2 separate regions of the Homo sapiens genome follow, and region 1 is linked to region 2. Evidence: promoter capture Hi-C in 16 types of primary human blood cells and fetal thymus (Javierre and others, 2016). All regions are on one chromosome and are shown on one strand. Each heading gives the region's core, a stretch centred on a gene start or on the middle of the fragment in contact. The rest is flanking DNA. Distances are from core to core; before and after follow the strand shown.

Region 1 (6,916 bases), core at 350-2,849, 390 kb before region 2:
TAGCCACCTGGCTGCCACTCACTCTGAGTCATTCTGGGTGGGGCAGGTGCCAGGGAGCGGAGAGTGGCACCCACTATAAATGAACAATTCTGTTAAGTAATTGTGAAATCGTCAGTGGTCATTTTATTTTAATGATAATGGCATTTTAGAGTGAATGTTTGTTTACTGAGCCTATAGAGTTCCATACATAACCCAGTGTTAAAGTCTTCAGTTTCCAGATGAGAAAACTGAGTTTTGATGAACTGACTCTTGGGAGGGGAATGAGCAGAACTGTGGGCTTGCATTAAAGGGGAGTCTACTGAGGCCTCAGGGACAGGGAGACCTTCACAGAAGTGCAATCAGAACCTGGGTGTCAGCACCTCCAAATGGTGGGGGTGTTTCACAATGTGGACCTGTGGGAGATGGGGGAGAGGGGCCCAGGGGAACCCTGACCTTTAGGGGCTGGGCAGAGGAGGGATCTCAAGCCAGAGTCTTCAAAAGAGCAACCAGAGATGTGAGCACAGACTGGGATGAGTGGGCTATGGCTGCAAGAGCAGTGGCATTCCCAGGAAGAGGGAGATAGATTCATAGTGAGCAAGATGATGTGTCAGGAGGTCAGGCAAAGGAAGGGTCAAGATGTAGTGTCAAGGAGTTCCCACATAGGGGACAGTACAGGTGACATAGGTCACTTTGAGAGGCAACAAGATGTGGCTCCGCAGTCACGTCAGCTGGGCTCACAACTTCCACCTATGACCTTGACCAAGTGTCTCGGACCCTTGGTGCCTTATTCTCTGGGTACTTGAGAATAATTCCGGGAGGTTGTGAGGATTAAATAGGAGTGGCCCTGGAAAGACTCAGGAGAATGTCTCATACCTTGTAAACACTACACATGTCGTTATTTGTAGAATTGGCATTAATGTTGGTGGGGAAAGGTGGAATGGGACCTGCAGAAGCTTGTTAGTTGAGCATGAATGAATGAATGGTAGGTGAGGATGGAGATACTGTGCCTCAGGAACTGAGCCTCTGTCACCCTCTCTCCCCTTCCTCAGCAGTGACTTAATGTCAGAACCCAAAGGCACAATGACTAGAAAAGGGCTTTGTAAAAAGAATGAAAGCGTCATGCATCTTTGAGTTGGCCCAAGATCAAATTTGGTGTTGAATAATGAATCCCCAAGGCAGAGTTTATACGTTAAAACACACTTCCTATATTATTGTTTTGAAATGTTTCTGAATATCTAAAACAATTCCAATAGCAGAAATACTAATTGATGTTGAAAAAGATTGTTATAACCCTGGTAATGTTTAAAAGTGGTAATATTGATTATTGATCTGAGTCAGATGTTAAAGTAGCAGCGTCACGGTTCTTACATCAGTGCTGTCATGAGAGTCGCGGTGGAAGCCAGAGAGAGGAGGCATGTTCATACAAAGCAAATTAAATCCCCTCCCGAGGTGTGGGCCACCATACCTCACCAATGTATTGTGGTTTTGATGTTATTTCCTTAATGACTGATGTTGTTAATCATCTTTTCATGTGTTTACAGTTCATTTCTGTAAATTTGGAGAAATGTCTGTTCTGTTCAAGTCTCCTGCCCACTTTTTTACTGGGTTGTCTTTGTTGTTGAGTTTATAATGATATTAAATCCCTATCACATACATGATTTGCAAATATTTTCCACCATTCTGTGTCTCATTCACTTTCTTGATAATGTCCTTGATGTTAATTCTAAATGTTTGGTAGGGTTCACCAGTGAAGCCCCTTGGTCCTGGACTTTTTTTTTTTTTTTTTGAGACGGAGTCTTGCTCTGTCGCCCAGGCTGGAGTGCAGTGGCGCAATCTCGGCTCACTGCAAGCTCCGCCTCCCAGGTTCACACCATTCTCCTGCCTCAGCCTCCCGAGTAGCTGGGACTACAGGCACTCATCACCACGCCTGGCTAATTTTTTGTATTTTTAGTAGAGATGGGGTTTTACCGTGTTAGCCAGGATGGTCTCGATCTCCTGACCTCCTGATCCACCCGCCTCGGCCTCCCAAAATGCTGGGATTACAGGCGTGAGCCACCGTGCCCAGCTGGTCCTGGACTTTTTATTTAATGGCTTTTGATGACTGCCTCAGTCTCTTGTTATAGGTCTCTCAATTTTCTTTTTCTTCTAGAGCCTGTTTGGGTATGTTTCAAGGAATTTGATACATCTAGAGCATTGATCCCCAAGCCCTGGGCCACAGACAGGTACCGGTCCCTGGCCTTTTAGGAACAAGGCCCTGCCGCAGGAGGTGAGCGGAGGGCAAGTGAGTGAAGCTTCATCTGTATTTACAGCGGCTCCCCATCACTCACATTACCCCTGAACTCCACCTCCTGTCAGATCATCAGCAGCATTAGATTCTCATAGGGGCGCAGACCCTATTGTGCACTGCACATGCAAGGGATCTAGATTGCACACTCCTTATGAAAATCTAATGCCTGATGATCTGTCAGTGTCTCCCATCACCTCCAGATGGGACCATCTAGTTTCAGGAAAACACTCTCAGGGCTTCCACTAATTCTATATTATGGTGAGTTGTATAATTATTTTACCATATATTACAATGTAATAATAATAGAAATAAAGTGCACAATAAATGTAATGCACTCAAGTCATCCCAAAACCATCCCCCCTCACCTCACCATCCATGGAAAAATTGTCTTCCATGACACCAGTCTCTGATGCCAAATTGGGTGGGGACTGCTAGTGTAGATGATCTAATGTGTTGGTGCATAATTGTTCATGGCATTCTCTTACAGCCCTTTGAATTTCCGTAAGGTCGGTAGTAATGTCCCACTTCCACTGATGATTTTAGTTACTTGCATCTTTTTTTGTTAGTAATTCTAGCTGTAGTTTTGTCACCTTTGTTGATCTTTTTGAAAGAACCAACTTTTGTTTTCATTAATTCTCCTATTCTCTATTTCATTTGTCTCTGCTTTAATCTTTATTTCTTCACTTTTGCTTTCCCTAGGTTTAGTGTGTCAAGGTAGTTGTTTTTGTTTGTTTGTTTGTTTGTTTGTTTGTTTGAGACTGAGTCTCGCTCTCTCACCCAGGCTAGAGTGTGATGGCACGATCTCAGCTTACCTCAACCTCCGCCTCCCGGGTTCAAGCGATTCTCCTGCCTCAGCCTCCCGAGTAGCTGGGATTACAGGCATGCACCACCATGCCCAGCTAATTCTTTGTATTTTTAGTAGAGACGGGGTTTCTCCATGTTGGTCAGGCTGGTCTCGAACTCTCGACCTCAGGTGATCCACCCACCTTGGTCTCCCAAAGTGCTGGGATTACAGGTGGGAGCCACTGCACCTGGCTGGAACTGGTTTTTGTATGAGATGTCTTACTGGTGGCTTTTCCTAGGCAAAGGGAATAAGATCTCGAGTTCCTACTGGAACCTAAGTGTTAGAGATGGGGATTCAGGTTAAATGAGTGGATGTGATTACCTGGGCAAAGCATGAGGCATGCGAAGGAATGGGTAAAGAATGGCTCTTGAGCAGAATCAGCCTTTAGTGGTGAAAGAGGACCTCTGGATGGTCCAGATGATCCAGAGAAGCAGGGAAAGAACCAGGAGACAGTTGTAGAGGAGCCGAGAATAGAGAATGATTCTCAAAGAAAATAGACACCACATTTTCGTGAGACTCTAAGACTGAAGTGCATTTACTGGATTCACTGACACGGGAGTAAATTGTATTTTCTGTGAGGATGGGGATGATGGTAGTGGATGCTGGGTGTACTGAATTGGGAGATGGTGAATGTAGACTGCTCCTAAGTTTTTGCTCGGAAGGGGGCACTAAGGGGAGCCAGGGCAGGCATTGGTTTCAAGATGGGATAGACCTGAGCATGTGTCCATGCATAGGAAATTGTCTAGCAGGGCGAGAAATGAGGCTGAAAGTAAAGGAGAGCCAGGTAGTGCGAGGGTCCAGAGACGGGGATGGGCCTGGAGCAGATTTGAAAGGATTGCCTTGAGAAGGGAGGGCAGACATCTCTTTGTCATAGAAGGAAAGGAGGAGGTCATAGATCAGTTGTGAGAAGACTGTTTAAATAACTAGAAGCAAGAAGGTAAGAAAGCCTCATTTTTTTTCTTTCTTTTAAGCAGGGTTTAATATATGTTCAAGAAAATGCATAGGTCTTACTTAGGTGATCAGTTTGAATTTTTGACAATTGTGTACACTGTACATCTGAAAATAGGTAAGTTTCTATCATCCTAGAAAGTTCCCTTTGCTTCTTTCAGTCTATCCCTGTCTTATCCTCCATTGAAGAAACCCCCTTTTTTTTTTCAATTCTATCAACTTAATTACGTTTTGCCTATTCATGGACATTATATTGTTGGAATCAGAGCGTTTCTTGTGTGTCCAGTTTCTTTTGGCCAGCATCGTAGGGATTTCTCCATGTAGTGTGTCTGCATAGTTTCTTTTTATTGCTGAGTAGTATTCCATTCTGTAAACATTGCAATTTGTATATCCATTCTCTGGTTGATAGATGTTTAGATTGTTTACAGTATTTGGCTATTAGGAATCAGACTACTACAGACATTTTTGTACGAGTCTTTGTGGATATAAATTGTTTACAGTTTCTCTTATATAAATATCTAGGAGCAGAATTGTTGGATCAGATAGTCAGTGTGCTTGTTAAAAACTGCCAAAGTGTTTTCCAAAGTAGTTGAACTATTTCACACTCCTACCATCAGGATATGAGAGGTGCCAGTGTGCCCCAAACTCAGCAGCATTTAGTATTGGTAGTCTTTTTTATTTTGGCTGTTCTAGTTTTAATTTGCATTTCTCTAATGACTATGATATTCAACACCATTCGATGTGATTCTTACTGGTTTTGTGAAATGTCTGTTTATTAATTAAAGTCTTTTACCCTTTTTGTTGGGTTGATTTTCTTTCTTTCTTTCTGTTTTGAAGGAGTTCTTTTTATTTTTTCCAATAAGCCTTTTGCACTCCTATCTAGGAGTTCTTTAATCTGAATACGAATTCTTTTTCAGGTGTATGCATTGCAGATATTTTTTTCCCAATCCGTGGTTCACTGTTCATTTTCCTTTTTTCTTTTTCTTTTTTTGTTTTTAGAGACAGAATCTTACTCTATTGCCCAGGCTGGAGTGCATGATGGTAGCTCACTGCAGCTGTTCTCTATGAATTTTTAAGTTTCTGATTCATCTCAAAAGATGTTTAAATTCAAATTCAGTGAGTGGAGGAGGTGGCAGAAGCATAGGTGGCCGCGAATCTCTAAAGTGAGAGTTGATGTGAGAAGGTTGCACAGGAGACTTTGCCCAGAGAGCAGATTTCCAAATCATTGCCTGTGAGGTGAGGCTGATTCTAGTGATGATGCAGTCCAGGCCATGGCCCAAGGGTGTATATGTTGGTGTGGAGTGTGGGTGCAAAGGGCATTGGAGTTTGGAACTCATGGTTGATCCTGGGTGGACCATCTTCATGGATAGAGCCATCCTAAATGATCGCAGGCCTCGAAGGTGAAGGAAGAGCAGAAGTCTAGGACCAGAGTGTTTAATGAGTGAGGGGGTTTAACAGAGTTGTACTTGGTGGAAAATCACTTAGGAAGAGTAATTCTGAACCCACTTATAGCAGATCAGGGGCTGTCCCCCCACCACATCACCACATTGCTGAGAGAGTTTACCTAAGTAAGATAAAAGTCCAGGATCAGGCAGATCTTGCTGCTCAAAAGAGGAAATGCCAAAAAACAAAACTCAGAGTTTTCTTTGGTGAGCAGGAGAGACAGATAGCCTTTCACTACTCCCGATGTTCTTTCATTTGCTACAGATGCCAGCTTGGAGAGTCACGTGAGAGCAAGAGAGTAGCTTTCTGGTTGTCCTGGTGCCCTGCTCAGGCAAACTGACTGCCATTCTCTGAGGATGGCAGCTCTGTCCCCCACATTTGGTAAGTTCTTGGGTCAGTGCGTGCCCTGAGAAAGTGAGTGCAAGTGGCCCCTGCCACTTGATGGGGTGAAAGATACGTACACCATAGAGGGCTGCTGGGAGAGGATGGGCAAGTGGAAAAGGGGTGGGAACAGAGCCCCAGCAGCCACCCCAGTGACTGTGTCTGCTGAGGGTCTTGGTGGGTCTGGGAGCAGGCCAGTGTCCTTATCATTCATGCATGAAGAGGGTGCAGGTAATGGGTAACCCTGAGTTATCTCATTTATTATTTTGATCACTTTCAGCAAGGTCACAACTCTAGCTCTCAGAACTTGCATTTCTTCACTCCTAGGTTGGAACTATGTCACTTCTTATGAGTATGTAGCCCACCACCCTCTTTATGTTTTTGGTGGAACAGGGCTGCTCTGACTTGTTATGAAACTGATGTGTGCAAGAGAGGTGGGGGGAGGAAGAGAGAGAGAGGATTGAGGATGTGAACACTCAGAATCAGTGTGGAGCAGTTTCCTGGTTTACAAGTGTTGTATTATGAGACAGGGCAGGCTCTGATTCTCATGAACCCTGTTTTCTCCTCCAGCCACGTCCACCCAGGATTCCACCTGTCTCCAGGACTCAGAATTTCCTGTTTCTTCAAAAGACCATTCCTGTCCCCAGAATTTGGACCTGTTCGTGTGCAGTGGTCTGGAGCCTCACACACCCAGTGTTGGTTCCCAGGTGCACTAAGATCTCTGGGTCCCTAGAGCAGGAGAGGCACTTCCTGGAAGACCCCACCAGTGCATGCTGGAATTCTTGCAGAGCTTCATCTCAGCCAGTGGATGCCAGAACAGGGCCCAAGAGAGAGCCAAGGAATATTGGGGCTGTCCTGGTGTTGGGGAAGTTAGGGGAAGTGATTTATGTAGCATCTGTTTCCCTCATGCTTGCAAAATCTCAGGCCCTTGCTCAGCCCCAGAGACGGGGGGAAATAAAGGGCAAAGCTCTCGGAGTGGGCTAGAACTGGAGGGAGATTAGTCCCTTGTCAGGGTTGCATCTGAAGTGACGGCA
Region 2 (7,102 bases), core at 278-2,777:
AGACTCTGTCTCAAAAAAAAAATAATAATAATAATAATGACAATCATTAATTAATCAAACATGAAACAGTGGCTCAAACAATCACCTACAGAATGGGAGTCAAATGATGATAAACAGTGAAAGTTCCGCAGTTCATTATCCATGAACCAAATTCACAAAAACTCTATAGGCCTCCTTCTACCAATAAGACTAAAACCCTAAAGTCACAAAAACCACAGTTCTGGACTCCTGGTATAGATCACACCTACTCCCAGGGGTCTCAAACTAGGGGTCCTAGGGCTGACTAGGCCCACAAATATTCAGTTTGGTGGCATCTGTATAGAATATTTAACTCTTTTTTTTTTTTTTTTTTTGGAGAGATGGAGTCTTGCTATGTTGCCCAGGCTGGTCTTAAACTCCTGGGCTCAAGAGATCTTCCTGCCTCAGCCTCTCAAAGTGCTGGGATCACAGGTGTGAGCCACTGTACCCAGCCAGCTTTTTTTTTTTTTCATTGATATACAATCAATGTAGCTTAAAATGCACACATCCTTCGTTTCTCTTTTTTTTCTTTTGAGACGGAGGCTCACTCTGTCTCCCAGGCTGGAGTGCAGTGGCACGATCTCAGCTCACTGCAACGTCCGCCTCCTGGGTTCAAGTGATTCTCCTGCCTTAGTCTCCCAAATAGCTGAGATTCCAAGACCCCACCACCACGCTCGGCTAATTTTTTTTCTATTTTTAGTAGAGACGGGGTTTCACCATCTTAGCCAGGCTGGTTTCAAACTCCTTAATCCAACCATCCTGTTCATTGTAAATTTGATTATTGTGATACTAGAATAATAAAGCCTTCATCCTTTCCCTCTGGAGGTCTGATTAAGAAGCTCTCTTGGGATGTACAGGCCTAGGAACTCCATTCGAAGATAATGAATTATTATTCTTAGTATTCTTTAGCAGAAAGACTTGCGGTCTACAAACGTTTATATTCACATACACAAATACGCACACCCTATAAACCTAAAAAGCATCTTTATCTTTCGCCATGAAAGTAATGGTCAAAAATAAAACACAACACAATAAGACGAAACCAAACTTACAGATGAAACATTCGTTTGCATAAGAGAAGACAGAAAAGGCCCCCTAGAACCAACTTTCACCCAGTGCTCACCGGAACACTCAGAAATCGCCAGGTCCCTGAACCGGGAAGATCCTGGGGACGGAGCCAACGCGGATGCAAAAGGCAGCAATTATTTTCCTGCCGGAAAAAAATTCACAAACGCTGCTTTGGAGGCCTTTGGAGAGGGGCGCACAGATGAAAACACCCTGCGGACACCGTAACTATAAACCCGACTCCTCCCGAGGAGCGACGGTCCGAGCGGACGCTAGCGGGCCCAGCAGACACGAGCAGAGCGGGCCAGGCCTCTCTAACGTCCGGGCCAAACCCGTCCTTCACCCCAAAACCAGTTCATCTCCTCGGAACTCACCCAGGCCAGTGAGGCCTTAACTCTGAAAGGCAAAAAGACTCTCAGGCGCTCACAGCCGGCGTCACAAAAGGAACGGCGCACCGCTGACGTCATTTACGCTCTCCGCCTCGGGCCAGGCGGGGTTTCGGGACTAGGGTTTCTGCCGTGTAATACCTCCTCGAGGCAGAAAAATTCTACTTTCCATCTGCTTGGCTGCGGAGGACCTTGGGGTGGGCTCAGCGTGGGGGCTGCAGGCAGAAATGGGTCCAGAAGGCAAGGTCGAGGTTAGAGCCAAGCCTGTGGGCAGGGCTACGGGCAGGGGGCGGGGAGGAATGTGGGTCCAGGCCCAGAGGAAAAGGTTGAAGTTATAGCCAGGCCTGTGGGCGAGGCCGCAGCAGGGCGGCCATAGGGGAAGGAGCCAATGTGTTATGCATGTAGAAAATAGGTAACTACGTCTTTTGCTCTGTTACTATTTCAACATTTGATGTAAAAAACATTTTCTATGCAGCTAAAAGAATTGTTTTTAAAAATAATTTCTAGGTTTTCTGCCTTGCTTTAAAACATCTTTTCTTTTTTTTTGAGACAAAATCTCACTCTGTCACCAAGGCTGGAGTTCAGTGGAGCCATCTCAGCTCACTGCAACCTCCACCTCCCAGGTTCAAGCGATTCTCCTGCCTCATCCTCCCAAGTAGCTGGAATTACAGGTGCATGCTGCCACACCCTGCTAATTTTTGTATTTTTAGTAGAGGCAGGGTTTTGCCATGCTGGCCAGGCTGGTCTTGAACTACTTGTCAGGCCTCTGAGCCCAAGTTAAATCATCATAAACCCTGTCACCTGCACGTATACATCCAGATGGCCTGGAGCAACTGAAGAACCACAAAAGAAGTGAAACAGCCAGTTCCTGCCTTAACTGATGACGTTCCACCATTGTGATTTGTTGCTGCCCCACCCCAACTGATCTCTTGACCTTGTGACATTCTTCTTCTGGACGAGTCTCAGGAGTTCCCCACCGAGCACCTTGTGACCCCCGGCCCTGCCAGCAAAAGATAACCACCTTTAACTTTCCACTACCTACCCAAATCCTATAAAACTGCCCCACCCCTATCTCCCTTTGCTGACCCCTTTCTCGGACTCAGCCCACTTGCACCCAAGTGAATAAACAGCCTTGTTGCTAACACAAAGCCTATTGGTGGTCTCTTCACATGGATGTGTGTAACATTTGGTTCCGAAACCTGGGACAGGGGGACTCCCTTGGGAGACTGGCCCCGTCCTCACCCTCACTCCGTGAGGAGCTCCACCTACTACCTCGGGTCCTCAGACTAGCCCAAGGAACATCTCACCAATTTCAAATTGGGTAAGCAGTCTCTTCACTCTCTTCTCCAGCCTCTCTCACTACCCTTCCATCTCTCTGTCCTTCCAATTCCAGTTCTTTTTCCTCTCCAGTAGAGACAAAGGAGACACATTTTATCTGTGGACCCAAAACTCCAGCTCCAGTCACGGACTCAGGAAGACAGTCTTTCCTTGGTGGCTAATCACTGTAGGGATACCTGCCTGATTATTCACCTACATTCCATTGGTGTCTGATCACTGTGGGGATGCCTGCCTTGATCATTCACCCACATTCCCTTGGTGGCAAGTCAATTGCAGGGCTGCCTGCTTTGGCTGCTTACCCACATTACAGCCCAGGGCTGCTCACCCCCACCCCACTCCACTGCCTTCTCCATGTCTCTACCTTTCTCTTTAAACTTACCTCCTTCACTATGGGCAATCTTCTGCCCTCCATTCCCTGTTCTTCTCCCTTAGCCTGTGTTCTCAAGAACTTAAAACCTATTCAACTCACACCTGACCTAAAACCTAAATACCTTATTTTCTTCTGCAACACCACTTGGCCCCAGTACAAACTTGACAATGGTTCTAAATGGCCAGAAAATGGCACTTTTGATTTCTCCATCCTACAAGATCTAGATAATTTTTGTCATAAAATGGGCAAATGGTCTGAGATGCCTGACATCCAGGCATTCTTTACACATTGGTCCGTCCCTAGTCTTTGCTCCCAATGTGACTCATCCCAAATCTTTCTTGTTTCTTTCTTGTCCTTTGAATCCTCCTTTTCTATGGACCCATCTGACCTCTCCCCTCCCCCTCAGGCTGCTCCTCGCCAAGCTGAGCCAGGTCCTAACGTATCCAGAATTGGTGGGTTCTTGGTCTCACTGACTTCAAGAATGAAGCCGTGGACCCTCGCGGTGAGTGTTACAGTTCTTAAAGGCGGCGTGTCTGGAGTTTGTTCCTTCTGATGTTCGGATGTGTTCAGAGTTTCTTCCTTCTGGTGGGTTTGTGGTCTCGCTGGCTCAGGAGTGAAGCTACAGACCTTTGCGGTGAGTGTTACAGCTCTTAAAGGCAGCATGGACCCAAAGAGTAAGCAGTAGCAAGATTTATTGCAAAGAGCAAAAGAACAAAGCTTCCACAGCGTGGAAGGGGACCCAAGGGGGTTGCCACTGCTGGCTCAGTAGCCTGCTTTTATTCTCTTATCTGGCCCTACCCACATCCTGCTGATTGGTAGAGCCGAGTGGTCTGTTTTGACAGGGTGCTGATTGGTGTGTTTACAAACCTTGAGCTAGATACAGAGTGCCAATTGGTGTTTCCACAATCCCTGAGCTAGACATAAAGGTTCTCCACATCCCCACCAGACTCAGGAGCCCAGCTGGCTTCACCCAGTGGATCCCGCACTGGGGCTGCAGGTGGAGCTGCCTGCCAGTCCCGCGCCATGTGCCCGCACTCCTCAGCCCTTGGGTGGTTGATGGGACTGGGCACCATGGAGCAGGGGGGAGCTCTCATCAGGGAGGCTCGAGCTGCACAGGAGCCCATGGAGGGGGTGGGAGGCTCAGGCATGGCGGGCTGCCAGTCTTGAGCCCTGCCCTGTGGGAAGGCAGCTAAGGCCTGGCGAGAAATCAAGCGCAGCACCAGTGGGCTGGCACTGCTAGGGGACCCAGTACACCCTGTGCAGCTGCTGGCCTGGGTGCTAAGCCCCTCATTGCCTGGGGCCAGCAGGGCCGGCCAGCTGCTTCGAGTGCAGCCGCCAAGCCCACGCCCACCTGGAACTCCAGCTGGCCCGCAAGCACCATGCACAGCCCCAGTTCCCGCTCGCGCCTCTCCCTCCACACCTCCCTGCAAGCTGAGGGAGCTGGCTCCAGCCTTGGCCAGCCCAGAAAGGGGCTCCCACAGTGCAGCAGTGGGCTGAAGGGCTCCTCAAGTGCCGCCAAAGTGGAAGCTCAGGCAGAGGAGGCGCCAAGAGTGAGCGAGGGCTGTGAGGACTGCCAGCACGCTGTCACCTCTCACTAATTCTTCCTCAGCCTCTGCTCCCTACCCTGTGATCTTTCTATCACCTCCCCTTCTCACACCCGGTCCAGCTTACAGTTTCATTCCATGACTAGCCCTCCCCCACCTGCCCAACAATATCCTCTTAGAGAAGTGGCTGGAGCTGAAGGCATAGTCGAGGTTAATGCTCCTTTTTCTTCATCCAACCTCTCCCAAGTCAGTTAGCATTTAGGCTCTTTTTCATCAAGTATAAAAACCCGGCCCAGTTCATGGCCTGTTTGGCAACAACCCTTAGACAGTTTACCACCCTAGAACCAGAGAGGCCAGAAGGCCATCTTATTCTCAATATGCATTTTATTCTCAATATGCATTTTATTACCCAATCTGCTCCCAAGACTAGAAAAAGCTCCAAAAATTAGATTCTGACCCTCAACCCCCACAACAGGACTTAATTAACCTCACCTTGAAGGTGTACAATAATAGAGAAGAGGCAGCCAAGTGGCGTTGTATTTCTGAGTTGCAATTACTTGCCTCTGCTGTGAGATAAACCCCAGCCACATCTCCAGCACATAAGAACTTCAAAATGCCTAAACCACAGAGGCCAGGTGTTCCTCCAGGACCTCCTCCCTCAGGTTCTTGCTTTAAGTGCTGGAAATCTGGCCACTGGGCCAAGGAATGCCCGCAGCCCAGGATTCCTCCTAAGCCATGTCCCATCTGTGGGACCCCACTTGAAATCGGACTGTCCAACTCACCTGGCAGCCACTACCAGAGCCACTGGAACTCTGGCCCAAGGCTGTCTGACTGACTCCTTCCCAGATCTTCTCGGCTTAGCAGCTGAAGACTGACACTGCCCGATCACCTCGGGAGCCTCCTGGACTATCACAGATGCTTTGGGTAACTCTTACAGTGGAGGGCAAGTCTGTCCCCTTCTTAATCAATACAGAGGCTACCCACTCCACATTACCTTCTTTTCAAGGGCCTGTTTCCCTTGCCTTCATAACTGCCGTGGGTATTGATGGCCAGGCTTCTAAACCTCTTAAAAATCCCCAACTCTGGTGCCAACTTGAACAACTTTCTTTTATGCACTCTTTTTAGTTATCCCCACCTGCCCAGCTCCCTTATTAGGTCAAGACATTTTAACTAAATTCTCTGCTTCCCTCACTATTCCTGGGCTATAGCCACACCTCATTGCCACCCTTTTCCCCAGTTCAAAGCCTCCTTTGCCTCCTCCCCTTGTGTCTCACTACCTTAATCCACAAGTATGGGATACCTCTACTCCCTCCTTAGCAACTGATCATGCACCCCTTATCATCCCTTGGGGGTAAAACCTAATCACCCTTACCCTGCTCAATGCCAATATCCCATCCCACAACAGGATTTGAGGGGACTAAAGCCTGTTATCACTTCCCTGTTACAGCATGACCTTTTAAAGCCTACAAACTCTCCTTACAACTCTCCTATCCTACCTGTCCAAAAACTGGACAAGTCTTACAGGCTGGTCCAGGATCTTTGCCTTATCAACCAAATTGTCTTGCCTATCCACCCCATGGTGCCAAACCCATATACTCTCCTATCCTCAATACCTCCCTCCTCAACCCATTATTCTGTTCTGGATCTCAAAGATGCTTTCTTTACTATTCCTTTACACCCTTAATCCCAGCCTCTCTTCACTTTAACTTGGACTGACCCTGACACCCGTCAGTCTCAGCAACTTACCTGGGCTGTACTGCTGCAAGGCTTCAGGGACAGCCCCCGTTACTTCAGTCAAGCACTTTCTCATGATTTACTTTCTTTCCATCCATCTGCTTCTCACCTTATTCAATATTTTGATGACCTCCTACTTTATAGCCCCTCCTACAAATCTTCCCAACAGGACACCCTCCGGCTCCTCCAACATCTATTCTCAAAGGGATATCGCGTATCCCCCTCAAAATCCCAAATTTCTTCTTCATCCGTTACCTATCTCGGCATAATTCTTCATAAAAACACACGTGCTTTCCCTGCTGATCATGTCTGGCTAATCTCCCAAACCCCAATGCCTTCTACAAAACAACAACTCCTTTCCTTCCTAGGCATGCTTGGGTACTTTCACCTTTGGATACCTGGTTTTGCCATCCTGACTAAACCATTATATAAACTCACAAGGAAACCTAGCTGGCCCCATAGATCCTAAATCCTTTCCCCACTCCTCTTTCCATTCCTTAAAAACAGCCCTGGAAGCTGCTCCCACACTAGCTCTCCCTAACTCATCCCAACCCTTTTCATTACACACAGCCAATGTACAGAACTGTGTGGTTGGAATTCTTACACAAGAGCTGGGACCACGCCCTGTAGCCTTTCTGTCCAAACAA

What was found. Contacts are between HindIII fragments. The CHiCAGO score rates a contact against its expected background, and 5 or more counts as called.
Region 1: a contact is called between a fragment that was not itself captured here and the fragment with the promoter of ZNF426 in region 2, in 1 of 17 cell types (erythroblasts). The highest score is 5.4, in erythroblasts.

Annotation. Positions count from the first base shown.
Region 1 is chr19:9,150,160-9,157,075 of GRCh38, forward strand. ZNF317 (zinc finger protein 317) reads left to right here. Exons shown (of 7, transcript NM_020933.5): 2 at 5,766-5,882; 3 at 6,453-6,589. The coding sequence starts at 5,858. Among named protein-coding and RNA genes, the nearest start is that of ZNF317, 13 kb to the left of the region's middle. The HindIII fragment of the contact is 1,338 bases long and covers 931-2,268 here.
Region 2 is chr19:9,537,118-9,544,219 of GRCh38, forward strand. It overlaps ZNF426 (zinc finger protein 426), which reads right to left and starts at 1,528. Exons shown (of 8, transcript NM_024106.3): 1 at 1,458-1,528; 2 at 1,142-1,228. It overlaps ZNF426-DT (ZNF426 divergent transcript), which reads left to right and starts at 1,549. Exons shown (of 2, transcript NR_134921.1): 1 at 1,549-1,881; 2 at 2,289-2,613. RefSeq lists enhancers at 834-1,569, 1,576-1,625, 1,826-1,895, 2,550-3,749. The HindIII fragment of the contact is 12,585 bases long and covers 1-3,892 here.